Regions from separate parts of the Homo sapiens genome. Here all the other regions are linked to region 1. The links are contacts of gene promoters, found by promoter capture Hi-C in blood cells and fetal thymus (Javierre and others, 2016). All regions are on one chromosome and are shown on one strand. Each heading gives the region's core, a stretch centred on a gene start or on the middle of the fragment in contact. The rest is flanking DNA. Distances are from core to core; before and after follow the strand shown. Region 1 holds the start of ERICH6B (glutamate rich 6B). Region 2 overlaps CPB2 (carboxypeptidase B2). Region 3 overlaps CPB2 (carboxypeptidase B2). Region 4 overlaps ZC3H13 (zinc finger CCCH-type containing 13). Region 5 has its middle 27 kb from the start of SIAH3.

Evidence for each region. Contacts are between HindIII fragments. The CHiCAGO score rates a contact against its expected background, and 5 or more counts as called.
Region 2: a contact is called between a fragment that was not itself captured here and the fragment with the promoter of ERICH6B in region 1, in 1 of 17 cell types (endothelial precursors). The highest score is 6.1, in endothelial precursors.
Region 3: a fragment that was not itself captured here is called in contact with the fragment with the promoter of ERICH6B in region 1 in 1 of 17 cell types (endothelial precursors); the score reaches 5.5 in endothelial precursors.
Region 4: a fragment that was not itself captured here is called in contact with the fragment with the promoter of ERICH6B in region 1 in 1 of 17 cell types (M1 macrophages); the score reaches 5.0 in M1 macrophages.
Region 5: a fragment that was not itself captured here is called in contact with the fragment with the promoter of ERICH6B in region 1 in 1 of 17 cell types (M1 macrophages); the score reaches 6.0 in M1 macrophages.

What each region holds. Positions count from the first base shown.
Region 1 is chr13:45,614,017-45,618,099 of GRCh38, reverse strand. ERICH6B (glutamate rich 6B) reads left to right here and starts at 2,361. Exons shown (of 15, transcript NM_182542.3): 1 at 2,361-2,415. RefSeq lists an enhancer at 2,237-2,738. The HindIII fragment of the contact is 3,697 bases long and covers 2,053-4,083 here.
Region 2 is chr13:46,092,255-46,096,337 of GRCh38, reverse strand. The region is part of intron 1 of CPB2 (carboxypeptidase B2); the gene reads left to right. It overlaps CPB2-AS1 (CPB2 antisense RNA 1), which reads right to left. Exons shown (of 3, transcript NR_046227.1): 2 at 1,336-1,485. Among named protein-coding and RNA genes, the nearest start is that of CPB2, 11 kb to the left of the region's middle. The HindIII fragment of the contact is 221 bases long and covers 2,043-2,263 here.
Region 3 is chr13:46,071,565-46,075,647 of GRCh38, reverse strand. It overlaps CPB2 (carboxypeptidase B2), which reads left to right. Exons shown (of 11, transcript NM_001872.5): 6 at 1,671-1,775. All of the region lies in intron 1 of CPB2-AS1 (CPB2 antisense RNA 1), which reads right to left. Among named protein-coding and RNA genes, the nearest start is that of CPB2-AS1, 21 kb to the right of the region's middle. RefSeq lists enhancers at 3,804-3,873, 3,904-4,083. The HindIII fragment of the contact is 262 bases long and covers 1,629-1,890 here.
Region 4 is chr13:45,989,372-45,993,454 of GRCh38, reverse strand. All of the region lies in intron 8 of ZC3H13 (zinc finger CCCH-type containing 13), which reads left to right. Among named protein-coding and RNA genes, the nearest start is that of ZC3H13, 61 kb to the left of the region's middle. The HindIII fragment of the contact is 1,177 bases long and covers 1,750-2,926 here.
Region 5 is chr13:45,876,704-45,880,786 of GRCh38, reverse strand. No RefSeq gene overlaps it. Among named protein-coding and RNA genes, the nearest start is that of SIAH3, 27 kb to the right of the region's middle. The HindIII fragment of the contact is 777 bases long and covers 1,290-2,066 here.

The DNA.
Region 1 (4,083 bases), core at 1,112-3,611:
CTTACAAGGGATGTGAAGGACCCCTTCATGGAGAACTACAAACCACTACTCAAAGAAATAAGAGAGGACACAAACAAATGGAGAAACATTCCATGCTCATGGATAGGCAGAACAAATATCATGAAAATGGCCATATTGCCCAAAGTAATTTATAGAGTCAATGCTATTCCCATCAAGCTACCATTGATTTTCTTCACAGAATTAGAAAAAAGCTACTTTAAATTTCATATAACCAAAAAAGAGCCCGTATAGCCAAGACAATCCTAAGCAAAAAGAACAAAGCTGGAGGCATCATGCTACCTGACTTCAAATTATACTACAAGGCTACACTAACCAAAAAGCATGGCACTGGTACCAAAGCAGAGATATAGACCAATGCAACAGAACAGAGGCCTCAGAAATAACACCACGTATCTACAACCATCTGATCTCTGACAAACCTGACAAAAACAAGCAATGAGGAAAGGATTCCCTATTTAATAAATGGTTTTGGGAAAACTAGCTAGCCATATGCAGAAAACTGAAACTGGACTCCTTCCTTACACCTTATACAAAATTGACTCAAGATGGATTAAAGATTTAAAGTAAGACCTAAACCATAAAAACCCTAGAAGAAAACCTAGGCAATACCATTCAGGACATAGGCATAGGCAAAGACTCCATGGCTACACCACCAAAAGCAATGGCAACAAAAGCGAAAATTGACAAATGGGATCTAATTAAACTAAAGAGCTTCTGCACAGCAAAAGAAACTGTCATCAGAGTGAATAGGCAACATACAGAATGGCAGAAAATTTTTGCAATCTATCCATCCGACAAGGGCTAATATCCAGAATCTACAAGGAACTTAAACAAATTTACAAGAAACAAACAACCCCATCAAAAAGTGGGTGAAGGATATGAACAGATACTTTTCAAAAGAAGACATTTATGCGGCCAAGAAACGTATAAAAAAAAACTCATCATCACTGCTCTTTAGAGAAATGCAAATCAAAACCACAATGAGATACCATCTCATGCCAGTTAGAATGGCAATCATTAAAAAGTCAGGAATCAATGGATGTTGGAGAGGATGTGGAGCAATAGGAATGCTTTTACACTGTTGGTGAGAGTGTAAGTTAGTTCAACCATTGTGGAAGACGGTGTGGCAATTCCTAAAGGATCTAGAACCAGAAATACCATTTGACCCAGCAATCCCATTACTGCGCATATACTCAAAGGATTATAAATCATGCTGCTGTAAAGACGCATGCACACGTATGTTTATTGCAGCACTATCCACAACAGCAAACACTTGAACCAACCCAAATGCCCATCAATGATAGACTGGATAAAGAAAATGTGGCACATATACACCACGGAATACTATGCAGCCATAAAAAAGAATGAGTTCATGTCCTTTGCAGGGACATGGATGAAGCTGGAAACCATCATTCTCAGCAAACTAACACAGGAACAGAGAACCAAACACCACATGTTCTCACTCATAAGTGGGAGTTGAACAATGAGATCATATGGGCACAGGGAGGGGAACATCACACACTGGGGCCTATCGGGGGCGGGGGGGCAAGGGGAGAGATTACATTAGGAGAAATACGTAATGTAGATGACGAGCTGATGGGTACAGCAAAACACCATGGCACGTGTATACCTATGTAACAAACCTGCACGTTCTGCACATGTATCCCAGAACTTAAAGTATAATGAGAAGAAAAAGAAAAGGAAAGAAAAGGAAGGGCAAATTGCAAGCACTTCAAAGACTGAGGTCCTTCTGAAACCTCTGTGACAACTGACCAGGAATGCCTACATAGAAGTGGTTTGCAACCCAGCCTCCCACCCCACCTGACCATTCTGCCACTCCTGCAAGTCCACTCACAGTGGCCAGGGCATGGGAACTCAGCTTTCTCCAACCCTTGGCCCCAGATCAACCCCTTGTGGGTCTCTCTATCCCTTTCAGGGCAGTTCCTTTCCTGGGGACCAGCTCCAGTGAGCCCATTCAGGGCCTTGAGAGCCACATGTCCCATCTCTTCATCTACGCAGCCACCACAAGCTTAGCACTGGACCCCAGGATTCTAGAAAGTCCCAGCCTGGAGGTCTGACGTGTACTGTCTCCATTCAGGGAAACACAATCCCCACGGCTGCAACTTCCCCCTGACACAGGCGACCTTCAGGCAGACAGCAGGAAAACTTTCTGGCCGCCGCTGACGACTGGTCCAAACAGTTCCCCGCCAGGAGAGAGGCTGGGAAAGGGAAGGCAAGGGCAGGTGCAGAGGCTTAGAATTCTCCGCCACGCACACACGCAGATTAGATGGGGCCCAGGGAGGCTGCGGAGTGCGGTTCCCATGGTAACCGAGAGCTGCCACAAACGCCGGGGCCTGAGATCGCGGTGGATGCACGCGCGGGAGCCTGGCTTGGGTAAGGGCTGCGCACGTTAGCAATGCGCTCCTCCTCCTCTTTCTCCTCCGCCTCCCTCTCCACCCACTCTCCTCCTCCTCTTCCCCCTCCTTCTCTGAGGGAGAAAGCAGGGAGCAGAGTGGAGGATCTGGGCAACAAAGAAGCGCCAAGTACATAGACTTCTTTGTTTCTCTCGCCCTTTCTCGGCCTCTCTATTCCCTTGGCCTTTCTGACATCTGCTTCGACCCAGCTTCTTCCCATTGTGAAGGCCGTTGTTGGGTCATGATATTTCTACAAATAAAGGATAAGGGGTCACTTTCTCTCCAGAGAGCCCCTAGCTCTGGGGGGAAGTGCGAGTGTGGATACTATGACTTCTTCCTTGACAGCCTGAATATAGACCAGTCCCCCAACCAGGAACAAATTCCCCAGATCGAAAACTCCAGCCTTGCCCACGAAGCGACTCCTGTGGCCCAAAGGCAAGTCACTCAGCTTCCCCTGTTTCCTTCCCCTACCTCTCTAATGTGGGGGGTAAACAGCAGTCCTAACTGGCCTTCCAGGGAGATGTGAGCAGTGACCAAGGTCAGTGTTTTTACAAGTGTTCTGTTCCAAGTGATGGCTCAAAGTCACCCTCCTTGAAAGTTCAAACCTGAATATATTCGAAATTCTATTTATAAAAAAGGTCCTAGGAAATGATGTTGTAATGAGTGCACTGGGTGTCTATAGTGCTAAACACTGCACTGATTGGTCTAAGGGGGTTGCCAGAACATTTTGATTTCATGTTTGCCCCCTGGCATGTTTTAATGTAGATCCAGATCAGCCCAGGCCTGGCACCATGGAATTCACAGAAGTAGGTCATCAGTTGTTCCCCTCATGGGGGAGAGCAGCAGACTTCAGCCAAGAATCACACAAGTTAATGAACAAGGTTATAAACAGCTATGGTAGATGATAACAGCAACAAGAACACATTACGTTTGCAGAGCACCATGGAATCCTTGGAGTCCTTTACAGAAATGAGGCTTCTCACCTTGATCCATCTAGGGTTTCCAAGCATCGGCTGGGAGAAGCCCAGTGAAAGCCAAGGGTCACCCACTCCATCTTCTTCACCAGCTCCCAGCTTGCTGTCTTAGCCCACCCATAACTCATCTCTTGAGTTTCCCCCATAGCAGGAGGGAAAGTGAAGTGATGGGGGCTGAAAAGTCCAAACCAGAAATTTCATTTGTGGTCAGCCTCCTGTGTGCCTCTCCTTCCGTTGGATCATCCATTCGATCCACATCCTTCTGTTGAAATCCTGCTACGTGCCTGACATGGTGCCGGGCTACAGTCTCATGGGTGAGGCAGACACACAAACCAGGGAGAAGTGCAATAGGAGAAAGGCAGTGAGAGAGCAGTCAGGAAAAGAGAGACTCTTTCTGGAAGAGCTTGTGTGTCTTCCCAGACGAGGTGACTTTGGGTTGGGTTTTAATGAGTGAATAAACTTGCTATAAAGTGATAAGGAAATTCAAAAGAAAGGGTGGGACTCCAGATAAAATCCCACTCTGGAGGAGCCGTCAGAAATATGTACTGGATCCTGCAGAGAAAAAAGAGGGCCCGTTAATATATTGAGGTCTCTGGTTGGAAGGGACACATACAACTGTCTACCGAAGCTCAAGGCTTCTCTTGCACCAGCAGACAGGGTGAAGCCCTGTCCTC
Region 2 (4,083 bases), core at 904-3,403, 480 kb before region 1:
AAATGGGGAGAGGGCTGGAGGAGGCTGGGAGAGCCATGAGACTGCAATGCAAGCTTAACCCCTGTGGAGGAGAGAGGAAAGGAAGGAAGCAGGTAGGGAACATTTCAGGTCGTAGTGCAGTTCTAAGAAAGTTTTGGCAAAACCAACCAAGAGTCCTGGCCAGGCACGGTGGCTCACACCTGTAATCCCAGCACTTTGAGAGGCCGAGGTGTGTGGATTACCTGAGGTCAGGAGTTCGAGACCAGCCTTACCAATATGGTGAATCCCCGTTTTTACTAAAAATACAAAAATTAGCCAGGTGTGGTGGTGCGTGCCTGTAATCCCAGTTACTCGAGAGGCTGAGGCAGGAGAATCACTTGAACCCACGAGGCAGAATTGTAGTGAGCCAAGATTGCTCCATTGCACTCCAGCCTGGGTGACAAGAGCAAAACTCTGTCTCAAAAAAAAAAAAAAAAAAAAAAGTCCTATAGCCAGAGTCACACATCAGAAGAGTTTCCAGTTTTGTAGAAAGAGCCTCCCTTAGTATCCCCACCATACTCAGTTATTAGCTGCAAGAAGCCAGTGGGAAATGTGGTATTAGCACTAACACAGGGACAGATTTCAGAGCACAGTAGCTGGGGGCTTATATCAAGTACACATCTTGCAGCTGGAGAGTGAGAAAGTTAATTAAAGCTGAGGCAAGACTGTAAATATGCACTGGTGTCTGTCCCAAGTGGATGTTAACTGTTCTGATGCTTTTTCCGACTGACATATCCAGCGCAATAGCTGAATACCATATGCCTGAGACTCTACCCCGGCAAAGATGCCACATCAAGCACTATGGCTGCAATTGAGATTGTTGCTTGGTTGAGTTTGATTGTTTGCTGTCGTTTTCCAGGATCCATCTGGTTTTTGTGGGATCCAGATGGCAAATTAAATGTGGATTTGATGGGATCTATCATCCCTGCATCTTTTAGGTCTTTAAGGGTGGTACTGATATTTGTCATTTCCCCTCAAGGATGAATTTTTTTTTTTTTAATTTTGATATCTTGGCTGGGAGGTTGGGCAATTTCAGAGGTTTCCTTTTGGCTTTTCCCACTATGATAGCTCTGGTCTTACAGTCAAGGAAACAATGTGGAGGTTCTGCCAACTACCTAGTATGTTCATGTCAATTATACATTTGGTGACCAGGGAAATAATGATGGGGGAATCCATTAACATGGTGCACCCGCTATGAGCTAGTCTTAGGCTAGGGCTCCAGATACCCAAGTTTCAAAATCAACTTGGATAGTGACCCTGCATCCAACACACCTGAAAATATTTGAGTATTACCCTTTCCCCAGGGTGCAGACTTACCTGAGGAAATTTCCATAGGTCTCTTTGGGAAAGGACTGAAGGAGTCATGATCTTTTTAGATTCTTTTTTTATACAGTTGCAGGGTCTTTCCTTGTGGGGACCTGATTCCTCCTTCAGGCAAGAAATTCTGGGTCTAAGAACAGCTCAGATCTGGAAAAGGGCAATGGATTATGACTTTTGATTAGGATAGCTGTCCTCAGCCTCTCTCATTATCCAGCTTTGATTTATTTTTATTGTAAAGATTGAGCAATCCTTTTGTTGGCTGCTTCTCTATCTTGCCCCTAAGAACTCTGTGTTCTCCTAACCGACTCCACAATTTTCTAAGGGTCATGGTCCTCTGGCTGCCACTCCGACCTTACTGCTCATTGTAATAACTGTGCCCAACTTGTTACTGGTGGTTAAGCCCTCCCGCCTGGCTTCTCTATACAGGGATCTTAACATCTCCATTGGTATCAGAGAGCTCAGTTCTGTAATGGCATGTCCTGTAGTTAGCCCTCAGGATCTATTCCCACCTCCCCTCCTGGCCTTCAAGCCAATAACCTAGGGTAGTCACAACATAAGCTGGCTGTGGAAGTGCTGGGCATGTTAACAAAGGAAAGGGACTATACCCCAAAGGAGGTGCACTCACCCATGCTACAGAATTTAACATTCTAGTTAGTTCCTTGAGAGGTGGTACAAACATGCTGTTAGGGTAGTTTTTGGAAGCTTGGAGAAAGCATGGCCTGCACCATCTGAGCTAGAAATGTCAGAGCGAATGTGGCAGATGGTGAAAAAAGAGATAGAGCACACTAGAATAAAAATGCTATGTAAGGCTAGAAAACCCACTGGGTGACTACGCTACTCCAAGGGCCCAGAGAACATTCTGTTTATGAAAATAATAAGGAATGTGCTGGTGAGATGAGAGGGTTACCAGCATCACTGAGAAGCTTGTTAGTGGCTTTTTCACAGTCAAAGGAGATTTTTCTTTAAATTTAATTTTCTTGAATAAATACAAGAATAGGAGTTCTTTTGGGTTTAAAAAGTAAATAATACAGAAAAGCATAAAATTAGGGAGAAAATACTAAAATTTCACCATCCTGGTGAAAATATGAACATGTTTGTGATCATCCTTTCATACATTTCTCCACATAGTTATACCTCCCTGGGTATAATTGTATACTAGTTCAATGTTGTATCTCCTATTGGTACTATAGAAACCTTTCTTTTAAAAAGAATCTCATTTGTTCTTCCCCTGCCACTTACCCAAGGCTTCAATTGCCATTTCCCACCCTCCAAATCAAAGCTAACAATGTGTTGTTTATTTATGTATAATTTTCTCCTGATTTTAACACATATAATTTTTCTTTATCTTTCTAACTTTTTTTCCAAAAATAGGATCATATTTCATAAAGTTCTCCATATCTTGCTTTTCTCCCTTAATATGCCATTTAAAGCCCCCAAGTTAACTGTTATAAATCAAACTCATTTTTTATAATGACTGAAAAGCATTCTAGAATGTGGAGACACTACCAACATTCGACAATTCTGTTACTGCTGAGCATTCACATGGTTTTTAGGTTTTGTTACTATGAATAATGCCGTAATACACATCCTTGAACATGTATCTTTAATCAGTGGTTTAATAGTTTATGCTAAACTTGTACCAGAGATTGACATAAAATTTCTCAGTCTAGCTACTTTTCCCCTCTTCTAATAAGCAAGTCTCTCCATAGACTTATTTCCAGAATTCAGAATATTTTACTCAGGATTTCCAAAATAAAGCCACCCTCCACCCTTGTTAAAGTTATCCTTGGTGGGCGCGGTGGCTCACGCCTGTAATCCCAGCATTTTGGGAGGCTGAGGCGGGTGGATTGTCTGAGGTCAGGAGTTCAAGACCAGCCTGACCAACATGGTGAAACCCCATCTCTACTAAAAATACAAAAATTAGCCGGGCATGGTGGTGCACGCCTGTAATCCCAGCTACTCAGGAGGCTAAGGCAGGAGAATCGCTTGAACCCAGAAGGTGGAGGTTGCAGTGAGCCAAGATCACGCCATTGCACTCCAGCCTGGGTGACAGAGCGAGACTCCATCTCAAAAACAAACAAACAAACAAAAACAAACAAAGGAAAACAAATAAAATTATCCCTATAAATCACAGCTCAAATGTTACCTTTCTAACTTCTAATTGCCTACAAGATAAAGTCCAAATTTCTCAGCATGCATTCAAGACCTTCTCTAGGGAAGGATGAACATAACTTCCCACACTCATTTCTGTTTAGCTCCCATTCTTCTCTTGCTTTAAACACCCGTATCCTATACTTGGCAACAATGAACAAGAGCCATTTTTCCAAAAATGCCCTTTATCTCTTGCTATTGTGCCTTTACCCACTCTTAGACATTCTTACACACCCAGACATCCCTTCTATGAAGCCTTTGCTAATAATGACAAACAGAAGTTATCATAACCTCTTTTGTGCTTTGAGAGCTCTTGGTACATGGTTTTCTTAAATAAGATGATTTATTTGGAATATTTTTAGATTTACAGAAAAGTTGCCAATTGTAATACAACTGTATACCCCTCACCCAATATACCCTAATGTTAACATTTTATATTATCATGATGTATTAGTAAAAACTGAGAAATCAACATTGTTATATTACTATTAACTAAACTCCAGACTTTTTTGGATTTCACCAGTTTTCCCACTAAAGCTCTTTTTCTGTTCCGAGATCTAATCCAGAACACCATGTTGCATTTAGTCATAATGT
Region 3 (4,083 bases), core at 510-3,009, 460 kb before region 1:
TTACAAGAACTTACAGTGCAGACTCAAGGCAGACATATGAAATGTTGGGTCCCCTTGGTCACTGAGTTGGTCAATCAGATTGGATCCATGTATCATGGCATATCCACCCATGACATTTGCTTTCAGCCATGTTGTGTGTAGTCCTTGGAACATACTTATCTGGAACCTGTACACGTTGAAAAATCATGCATTCTGGATGGTTTGGTCCTACTCTTACTTGATCAAGGATGTGCAGATAATGTGAGTCTCTGGGATTTTGCCAACTTTTCGGTGTCAGAACCAGTGCCAAGAAAATTGGCCCAGGACTTAGAAAGGTCAAGTAAAGTAACGAATCCAGACAACTTAAGATTTTCTTTGCATTGAGTAGATTAAGCTAGGTAGTTCTCTTTGACTATACAATTTGACGATTAGTGGCCAATGCCATTGGGCTTTCTTACTTACTATCCTGTTAAATATTGCTAGCTCCAAGTTAGGAAAAAACCTCCTGGAGTGGTTCAAATGACAATCTAAATATCTAACTCTTTCTTTTTCTTATTTTGGAATTGCAAGTCTACATATTTGTTTGATTTTACAACAGTCTTCTCCCTTCCCTCTATACCAGTGGTCCTCAACCCCTGGGCTGCAGACAGGTACCAGTCCATGGCCTGTTAGGAACGCGGCCACGCAACTGGAGATGAATAGCCAGCGAGCAAGCATTACTGCCTGAGCAATGCTTCCTGTCAGATCAGTGGCAGCGTTAGATTCTCATAGGAGCACAAACCCCACTGTGAACCGCGCATGCAAAGGATTTAGGTTGCATGCTCCTTAGGAGAATCTAATGCCTGATGATCTGAGGTGGAACAGTTTTATCCCCAAACCATCCCCACCACTGATTCCACCCCAACTCTGCCCCATCCATGGAAAAATTGTCTTCCATGAAACTGGTCCCTAGTGCCAAAAAGGTTGGGGACCACTGCTCTATACCCTAAACTGTGTTGTAGCTGACTTTTAAAGGCAAATACATTATGATTAATTTTGGAGGTGTTCTTGATAATTCTTCTAAAGACATCAAAGGCTATTATTGAGAAAAGGTTGATGATTCTTATTCCAGAGTTAGCAGCTTGTGTTAGCCCACCATACTGGGAAAAAAGCCTCTGTCCCTGGATTTGCTGGTAAGTTCGTGAGAGGTTAGATGTGTGCTTCTTTTTGTGTGAAATAAAGAAATAATCCACATAAAAAAAAAATATGCACTCAGGAAAATCTTGAGGGAGTTTTTGCTCTGGGTGTGTCTCCACACCTCCCGGGGAAGATTGCCATCCAACTCACACCCATTTACCTCTAAATGAAGCATGAAGATACAGCCCAAATCATTAGTTCTCTGGTCTCTTCTTTGAAACTTCCACATGCAGCTCTGACATGACTGCATAATTGTGGAGGATAAAAACAGTTTTAAATCAAAGAGTCCTGGCTTCAAACTTCAGTTTCAATTCACACCAGCTTTGCTACCTTAACTAATGTCACTTAGTATCACCAGTGTTTAAATTTCCCTTGAGAATTTTCAAAGAAATGCAGAACAATGCATATCTCAGAGATTTGCTGAAACTATTAAATATAAGCACTATATAAATGAAAGTTATTATCCTGAAGCTTATTGTTACTGTTTTTGCTACTTTTGGGGTTTCTTTGAGCAGGTTTCTGGAAAAGAACAAGCAGCCAAAAATGCCATATGGATTGACTGTGGAATCCATGCCAGAGAATGGATCTCTCCTGCTTTCTGCTTGTGGTTCATAGGCCATGTAAGTATTCACATTCTCTTAACCCTATTTCTCAAAATGGTGCCCAAGATCACCTGTGTCAGACTCAACTGGGCTATTTATTAAAATGCATTTTCCTAGGTCACATCATGAAGCTTGGGAATCTACAATTTTCACAAGTTTCCCAGGTGACTTTTATGCATTAGTAAGTTGAAGAACATGACTTCAAGCATTTAAATCACCCAAAATATTTTTGGTCTTTTCTACATTTCTGCCTGGAGCTAAACAGTGGAAAATGATTAAGAAATAGTACATTGATTATAATATGTTTACTAAGTAGAGGAAAGGACTGAAGGAGTTATCTAAGTTGGGGCCCAATTAATTTATTTCTCTTTTGGTTTTAATTATCCAGACATCTTTTGCCACCTTTGCCCTTGGAAATTGAACATAAAGCACAACATTACAGAGGTGAAACAGAATATGTTTTCTCATATGTCATAATAGGGAATTTTGTTCCTGAAGAAGGGTTTTGCATCAAAAAAGCCATATATAAGACAAACTGTATGTTGGAAAAGTAAAAGATATAACGACTATTAACCTCCCTGATGAATGAAAACAGTAAAAATTATGCTTCAAATCCTATAAAATGGGCATATATGTTCTCTACACTGATTTCTACAAAGAATCATAGCCACTGGAAAAATAACTCAAAATATGTGTCTTTCTGATAATGATTTTTGCAGTCTTTGCATTCACAGATACATAGTAACAGAATAAATGAGTTAGGAAATTAAGATATTGGCACTTATTAAGTACATCAAGATAAAACTGTTTCTGTCTTTGCTTGACCTTGACAAATGCAACATCCCTATTTGCCTTCATTCACTGTGAATCTTCTATCCTCCATTCTCCATGGATGGGAGCTGCAACCTCCCTGAGTCTACTGGAAATTCCCAAACACCATTGGTACTACCTTGGCCAAATGAGGATGATTCCAACTGATCAGACCCTTAACATATCCCAGTCACATCATGATCTGGAACCTTCCCCAAGTTGAGTAGTTTGGTTATTTTAGGTAGTGAAGGGAGCAGCAGTTAATAGAGAAAGGTCCAAAGTAGGAGAGTAAGAACATTTATTTTCCATTCTATCACTGAACATGAGAAGGGCCAAGAAGAAACCTCCATTCATATTGACTCTAATTTATATCGGTGAGGTTGTCCCTAATGACTGCCCTTCTCACCCTGACACCTCTGCCCTCCTATTAGACATCCTACCCTCTACCCAAACTGCTTGCTGAATCTTTGTAAGATTAAATTATTTAATCCACAAATATTTATAGATTGCCTATGATGTTTCAGATCCTGGAAATACAAGGATGAACAAAATATAGCCCAAGGATCTTATAGCTGAGTATTTTGCTCCAACAATGTGAACCTGATTTGTGTAGCCCAAAGAAACATAATCAATAAGGGCTTTTTAAATCGACATTTAAACTCCATTCTTGCCTGCCTAAAACTAATTCAGATCATCTGACTCTCTTAGTACTTCAAAGCACTGGAGGAGGGAAAGTAAAATAAAATATTTACCTTTCAACAATTGTGAAGGTAGGTTTTATATTCAAAAACTAAACCACCCAAAGGCAAATTAAAATCTTAGCTTTTAAGTCTCTCACTCTTTTCTACAACTCAATAAGGATTTCAAAAATCTTATAATCTAGTCTCAGTGGAAATCCACTACACTACACTTTGAGAAGCTTGAAGCCAGTCATTTCTTTCTAAGCTTCTCATTCATGTACTCTCGGGAGGCAAATTTAGATCCTTCTCTTTCCGCAAAGGCAGAGCTGAGACCAATTTGTGCATGACTGCATCACCAAGCCAAAATCCGGCACAGGGCTGGCACATCATAGGACCCAGTGAATATATGTTAACCATCACAACTTGCCAAGTACTTTTTCTGCCAAATGGCTTTTCTCACTGCTAACCTCCTGCCAAACCTCTGCCCTAGAAAACTCTCATCTAATTGCACACAAAGTTAGAGCTCTACAACCTCAGGGCCTTCACAGAATTATCTCTGCCCCTCCTCACCACAGCTGACACATGACCTAAGGACACTGCTCCCTGGTGGCTCCTTCAAGTAGAGGGGCTGCTCTTTTTTTCACATCACCATGTGCTGAGAGGCCTGGTGGAGTAGATCAGCATTCTCTTCTCCTGATACTACCAATGATCCTTCTCTTCTCAGAAACTTACACAAACTGGTTGCACTCTTATTTTATTGCTATCGTGCACTGACCTTCAGATAATTTCCTGGTACCCGGTTCATGATTCTTTATTCCCCTCCAACTCTTGCCATC
Region 4 (4,083 bases), core at 1,089-3,588, 380 kb before region 1:
TCCTACCTCCTTTGTGCTTATTGATCCTAAAGCTCTTGCCTCAGATCTTCAGCACTTGGCTCAAATATATCCTCTAGTAAGGGTCCTTTCCTTACCAAGCAACCTAGAGTAGTCACCCTGACATAGTTTTTTGTGTTTTGTGATCAAGGGCTAGAAAAAGACAAATAGCCGGTATTCCTGCCACACACATGTAGATTGTTTTTAAACTCCAAAAGTAAAAAGCACATACTTTTTGTGTTTTTTTGGACCTAACAGTTCTATTTTGTTGTCCTTTTGTATAAATGTTGTTACATTAATTAGCAGAAATTGTCTTGCTTTGTCATTGTTGGTTTGCTCCCTGGACCATAGACTCTGTTACTAGATAGACTGGTTTCCAGTCCTCCCTCGATGTATTAGTCAAGGTTTTCCAGAGAAACTGAACCAGTAGAAGATATGTCTAGAATGAGATTTACTTAAGGAATTGGCTCATGCAATTATGGAGGCTATAAAGCCCTGTGATCTGGCTGCAAGCTGGAGACCCAGGAAAGCTGGTGGTGTAATTCAGAAGCGTGAGAGGTAGAAAGCTGCCTCCATTCAGAGTGTAAGACCTGAGAAGCAAGGGTAGATCAACGTTCAGCTCAAGCAGTCAGGCAGAGAATGTAACCTTCCTTCACCTTTTTGTTCTGTTCAGGCCCTCAGTAGATCAGATGATACACACATTGGTCAGGGCCATCTGCTTTACTCAGTTTACTGATTTCAAATGCCAGACTCTTTTAGGAAGCCCTCACAGACGTGCCCAGAAATAATGTTTAGCCAGATATCTGGGCCATTCCATGACCCAGTTAACCCAGTTATGTCAGAAGTTGCAAATTTTTTTGTGAAAAATCAGACCTTGGCCATGAGACCTTGAGCAGTAGGATATAAATAACTCCCACAAGTTTAGTATTCCAATAATGGAACACTAGGCATAAATGGATTAAGTTGACACATAAAATTAACCATGACATTCAATTACCTTATTAGATTGTCATAAAGATTAAGTGAGTTAATATATGACAAGCACTTAAAATAGTGTCACACACATAGTAGCAATATACGTTACTTGCTATTATTAATGTCATTACTATTATTATGTTAGTGGTTTTGTTCTCTTCATTTCTGTATCCTCATTGCCAAAAATAATGCTTGGAGCTTAGTATGTGCTCACTTAATATTTGTTGAGTGAATTAAAATGATTTAATAAATATAAACTTCATATGTAAAATAATAGAACCTAAATATTTCTACTTGCAAAATGTGTATTATGTTGTATTTTATCACTGAAAACAGAGATGATTTTGGTAGTGCCCATATTACCTTTGTGTTTTAAAAATGTATACATTTTACATGATTTTAAAGGTTAAAATATGAATGTTAGTGCATTATGTAAGCATATTTTCATATTTGAGAAATAGAAACCATTTTTTGAAAGAAACATTGGTGTTACTATTTTTAAGTAAGTCTGGGGTAAACCTATTAGTTTGCAGGTGAAATTACTTGCATCTTGAATGAGAGTTTTTATTTTTAAATTTCTTAACTTTTCACATTTTTTCCCAAAATGAAATATACCCTGAATATTCTCATTCCACACCACATCATATCCTAATTATAGCAGCACTAAAAAGTGTTTGATTGGAATCTAGTCAGACCAAAGATCAACTTTCCCTGGATACAATAAATCACAGTGCTCTTGATTACATTATACAGGTTTTTGTTTTAAGGTATTAAGCTTCTCTTCATTAAATAAACTTTCCTTTTTTCTTTATTTGAATTTCAAGTTTCACTAATTTTTTCCCTCAGATAAGAAACCAGCCAATTATAAAGCATAAGACGAATTAATCTGAAGTTACTTCTATTCTAAGTGGAAATGTACTTTACTATAGCTCTGTAATAGTCTATAGCCAAAGTACTATTAATTTTCACCAGATTTCAAGACAGTTTCGTTGCTTAGAATCATACCTTTTATATATGCAGAATGGACGTAGGTGAAGGTTGAGTAAAAAGAAAATATGATTAAAAAGTTGAAGCCATTATTTGACAACCCATTAGTGTTCTGACCTTAATGTGATAGCCCGATTATCCTAAGTTTGAAGTTTTTTCTTCCATGCTATAGCCATCAAGTTGAATAGAAACATGATTGGACCCTAATGTGTTTTTTAAAGGTAGTATATGTGAACTGTTTTGTTTTTTTAAGTTTTATGAACTAATAACTCAAGGCTATTGTAGACATTCTTGAAACAATTTTAAGTATACCCCAGAAATAAACACAGAAGTAACCAAAATATCAGTTCAATGGAGAACCATTCATTCTTTAGTTTTTTAAATTGACGAGAACCATCAAGCATGGTGGCTCATGCCTATAATCCCAGCACTTTAGGAGGCTGAGGCAGGATGATGGCTTGAGCCCAGGAGTTCAAGACCAACCGGGGTATAGTGAGACCTCGTCTCTATAAAAAATAAAACAAAGTAGCTGAGTGTGGTGGCATGTGCCTGTAGTCCCAGCTGCTCGGGAGGCTGAGGTGGGAGGATCACTTGAGCCCAGAAAGCCAAGAGTGCAGTGAGCCATGATCATGCCACTGTACTGTAGCCTGGGTGACAGCGAGACCTTGTCCCCCCGCCCATCCCCCCAAAAATTTACTAGAACCTAATGACATTGAAATTGAAAACAACCAGACAATACTGACTCTAATTTTTACTCTTGCAGTGATTTTTCTGTTCAGTAGGATGCATTTAGATGGGCATTGATCATAAATGGTTTTCCAAATTTGGCTAAGACCCGTTGAGTATTTCCACTCATATTAGCTGTTAAGTTAATAAATTTCTATTTAGAGTCAATTAAATTTTAGTAGCTTATGGCTTATCTTTTTATGTTAGAAAGGAATCACTATTTTATTAAAAGTATAAAGCTTTAATCAAGTCACAGAAAACTTGATGTTTAAGTGAGTGTAGTGTTCTAGTTAGCTGACTTTTCATTTACTGTCACCCAGAGGTATTTTTATTTGCCTAAATTCTTTTCTGCATATTCTTTCTAATATATTAGATCACATTCCTGACTTAGTAACATAGTTTATAGATTGAAACCTTTTTTTGATAAAAGGTTTACTAAGGCATCATTTATAAACAACATAGTTTAAGGTAGTGGTTCTCAACTGGGGGTGATTTTGCCTGGTAGAGGACATTTGGCAATGTCTGGAGTAATTTTTTATTGTCATAACTTGGAATGGGAGGGATGCTACTGGCATCTAGTGAGTTGAGGCCAGGGATGCTGTTAAACATCCTATATATAATGTACAAGACACTCCCCCTCCTCCGAAGAGTTACCCAGTACAAAATGTCAGTAGTGCTAGGGTTGAGAAACTGGTTTAGAATTAGTAATGATTTGTGCCATCACTGCACATACTAAAAAAATGTTTATCATAGACACTGAAGATAATTACAGAAATACTTTGACTTAAAAAATCAGAATTTTTTTGAATAAGCTTTTAGCTCTTGAGATGATTGCTTTGAGGAATATTTATCTGGGCATGTCTAGAATATTATATTTTAAACATTATTTCCTGCTGCTTCTTAGTTATTGCACAAAAGTTTGGACAGGACCCAGGTATAATAGACTCTAGGAGTGATTCAGATGTGCTTAATGATCACATCTGTTTCATGAGGTTATGTGTTGTTTCTCTGGTAGCAGTGAAAGAAAATGATTTGAAGGGAATAGGGGAGGCCTTAGTTGAACCAAGAACTATGAACTAACTCTCAGTTTGTGCTGCCCACAGTGAAGGCAGATTACTTAAGTTAAAGACAGTATATATTTTGTTATCCTTTCCTTAATTCTAGGATTCTTTCATAGTCCTAAATGTCAACCCATGCAGCGTGGACTTTTTGTTTGCCTTAGCTGATGCTACCTCCCCTTTTACCATAGCCATGAATTTACAGGCATTCTCAAAGCCACTTTCTCTCTAGATCTCAGTAGTATGTTTTGCCATAGTTTGTGGGTTTTCTCCCTCTAAGTATTTGTTCACACTTTCAGAGATTATCAGAGTGAATTCCATACTTTAAGTTAGGGTAGAT
Region 5 (4,083 bases), core at 429-2,928, 260 kb before region 1:
TGACCCATTGGTTGTTTAGGAGCATGTTGTTTAATTTCCATGTAATTATACACTCTCCAAAGTTCCTCCTGTTATTGATTGCTAGTTTTATTCCAGTGTGGTCAGAAAAGATACTTGATATAATTCTGATTTTGATTTTTGAAAATTTGTTAAGATTTGTTTTGTGGGCTAACTTATAATCTATCCTGGAGAATGTTCTGTGTGCTGTTGAGAAGAATGTGTATTCTGAAACTATTGGATGGAATTTTCTGTAAATATCTGTTAGGTCCATTTGGTCTAGAGTCCAGTTTAATTCTGATGCTTCTTTGTTGATTTTCTGTCTGGATGATCTGTCCGTTGCTGAAAATGGGGTGTTAAAGTACACTACTACAAGTGTATTGCAGTCTATCTCGCCCTTTAGATCTGTTCAATGTTTGCTTTACATACTTAGGTGTTTCAATGTTGAATATAGATATTTTTTTCAATTGTTATATCCTCTTGCTGTATTGACCTCTTTGTTACTATAGGATGGCCTTGTCTCTTTTTACAGATTTTGGCTTGAAGTCTATTTTATCTGATATAAGTATAGCTACTGTGCCCTTTTTTGTTTCTATCTCAAAATTTTTGTCCTAAAGGAGGCTTCAAGGATGGTTGTATTAAATTACCACTTAAAACGGCAAATGCAGTAAATTATTTAATGACTTTTCCACTGCAAGGTTTGGGCTTTTGTTTTCTTCGAATTAAAAATGAAAAAAAAAAAAGCAATTTCAGCAAGACACCATTCAATGTTTTTCAAGTCTGTGGAGTTCCATTCCCAGCTTTACTGCCAGAAAAAAGCATGTCAATCATGTAACTGAAAGGAGCTGAAGGAAGACCTTTCCAGGAGAGCTCTGATTCAAGGCGTGAGGACCAGCGCCAGCAACCACCAGGTGGCTTCTGCTATTCTGGGAGTGAATGAGGCCATGTGCCAGAGGTGTGAGTCCACTCATCGGCCAAAGACAGAGGCACTAAACACTGACCCTGCGTGACACGGATGAGCCTGTTCCTGCCTGGCTCACAGGCTCCCTGTCAGGGAGAAAGAATAGTATTTCTCAACCTTCTTATATTAACACAGGACAATTGGTGCTTTATGTTCTGTATCCTTCTGAGTCCTCACACCAACCCTGTGCAGTAGGTACAACTCTGCCCCTCTCCTCCAAGTGGAAAACGGCTCAGAATGAGAAAATAACTCCCTGAAGTTAACACAGATGGTGAAACAGGGGGCCAGTAGGACTCTGGAACCCTCCCTGCTTCTGCCACACCACAAAGCTTCATTCAGCAACCTCAGAGGAGAAGCCGCAGCAGCTATTGGGAGAGGAGGTTTTTCCAGTTTAGTGGAACACATGAAAGTTGGAAAGCAGCAATAAAATATGGTGCTGCTAAACCGACCAATCAGTTAAGGCCAAGTCCTAGGGGCTTTGAGTGCTATGATGAGGCTTACTGCCTGTGTGGAGTAATTAATGGGGAGCCACTGAGGAGCTGTGAGGAAGGCAGCATCCACACCAGATCTTTAGGGCATCTCTTCCCGCAGCTATCTGAGGACAAACCAAAATGAAAGGGCTTTATGAGTGTCAGATGAGCGTGAGGGCACTAGGAAGAGACACCAAGAACACGTGGTGATGATGTAGGCTCCAGAGCGTGGACTATGTTTTCTGAACAGTGAGACTTTCTTTCTGTACACATCATCTCATGGGAGGAGGCAGCATAGTGTGCTGGTCATATGCACTACCCCGCTCTGCCTCTTTATAGCTGTGTAATTTAGGGCAAATTACTTTCCCTCTCTGTGCTTAGGTTCCTCTTCTATAAAATGGGCATCATAACATGCACCTCACAGGATTGTTCTGAAAGATATCTGAGAAAAAGTTTATTTAATATGTAGCAGAGTATTACATATTTATGAATGGCAGCCATTATATAACTATTTGAAATGGATAAAAGTACTTTGCTCTTTCAATATACCTGGGCAGGCAGGTCTGACTAGAGTCAAAACTATGAAGTAAGTAAAATTAATCTTTGATCTTCCATCTCTAATTCTCATCTCCCAAGCTTCAAAGACCAATGATTATTTTGTAACTCATTTGGTGCCAAACCTGACCCAAAGTCAGGAAGGCTAATGATAGGCTTTATTTTACTTAGTGTGAGGACACATTTTACTGCTGAAGTGTTCATGCATTTGCTAATGGGGAGTTAGGCTGCGGTGCCCAGCTGTTTCATCAAATACTAGTTTAGAAGTTGTGTGATTGACATCTAAAATCAGTTGACTTTAAGTAAAGGAGATAATGGTTAACTTGCGGGTGGACTCCTGTGTTGGTTTGCTAGGGCTACCGTAACCAAGTAACACAGACTGGGTGGCTTAAACAACAAAAATGCCTTTCTCACAGTTCTGGAGGCTGGAAGTCCGAAATCAAGATGGTGGCAGGGTTGGTTTCTCCTGAGGCCTCTCCTTGGCTTGCAGATGGCTGCTTTCTCCCTGCATCCTCACATGGCCTGTTCTCTGGTGTTTCTTCCCACTACCCCACCCTGTCACCTCATTTAACCTTCTTCACCTCTTTAAAATCCCTGTCTCTGCCGGGTGCAGTGGCTCAAGCCTGTAATCCCAGCGCTTTGGGAGGCCGAGGCAGGCAGATCGTGAGGTCAGGAGTTCAAGACCAGCCTGGCCAATATGGTGAAACCCCATCTCTACTAAAAATAGAAAAATTAGCTGGGCATGGTGGCGCACATCTGTAGTCCCAGCTACTTGGAAGGCTGAGGCAGCAGAATCGCTTGAACCCAGGAAGTAGAGGTTGCAGTGAGCTGAGACTGTGACACTGCACTCCAGCCTGGGCGACAGAGTGAGACTCTGCCAAAAAAAAAAAAAAAAAAAAGCCCTGTCTCCAAATGCAATCACTTTGGGGGTGAGGGCTTTAACACATGAATTTTGGGAAGACACATTTCAGTCCATACGAGCCTCATCCAATAAGCTGAAGGTCTTAAGAGCAAAAACAGGTTTCCTAAGGAAGGAATTCTGCCTCAAGACTGAAACATGGAAATCCTGCCTGAGTTCCCAGCCTGTCTTACAAAGTTTAGACTTACCAGCCTCCATGATCATGTGAACCTCACTCTTTTTGTTTGTTTGTTTGTTTTTTGAGATGGAGTCTTGCTCTGTTGCCCAGGCTGGAGTGCAGTGGCATGATGTTGGCTTACTGTAACCTCTGCCTCTTGGGTTCAAGCAATTCTGCCTCAGCCTCCCGAGGAGCTGGGATTACAGGCACTCACCACCACGCCCAGCTAATTTTTGTATTTTTAGTAGAGACAGGGTTTCCCCATGTTGGCCAGGCTGGTCTCAAACTCCTGACCTCGTGATCCACCTGCCTCGGCCTCCCAAAGTGCTGGGATTACAAGCGTGAGCCACCGTGCCCAGCCAGAACCTCATTCTTTAAATCAAATCTCTTTATGTCTATCATATGTATATTTTATATGTGATATATACTTTATAGATATATTTTAAATATATATGGTATATATGTAATAGAATATCTATAACTATATCGTATTAGTTGTGTAGTTGAACATATATAGTTGGATTTTCTCTAGAGAACCGTGACTGATACACTTGGTAATTATCTTAGTTTTCTCTTTAAAGAACCCTGTGAGGGAAGAAGGGGAAATGTATTACCCCTTTTTTCCAGTTGAGGAAACAGTTTCAGTATGTCAAAATGACTTGGTGACTCTCAGAGGTTACAGAGCTCGAGAGGGCAGTGCCATGCACGCCTTTCTTCTGGCCTCTCACCTGGGGCTCTGTAGGTCATGCTGCCCAGAGGCTGAGGGCACCAGATCTGGGGAGTCAGGGCATGCTCCGTGAGTGGAGCCGGGTTGAAGAGAAAGTGGTGGGAATGTCAGTGAGAGTAGCTCATTGAATATACATTTTATTCAATAGGGACTGGCCTTTTGAAAGTGAGCCCCTTTTGGTAAAATGGAAACTCATTTTATTTCATTAGATAACACATTTTATCAGTCTTTGGTGGTCAGTGCTCCTTGCCACTTGATCTTGTCCATTGGCCTTATAAATGATCTCAACTGTGACTC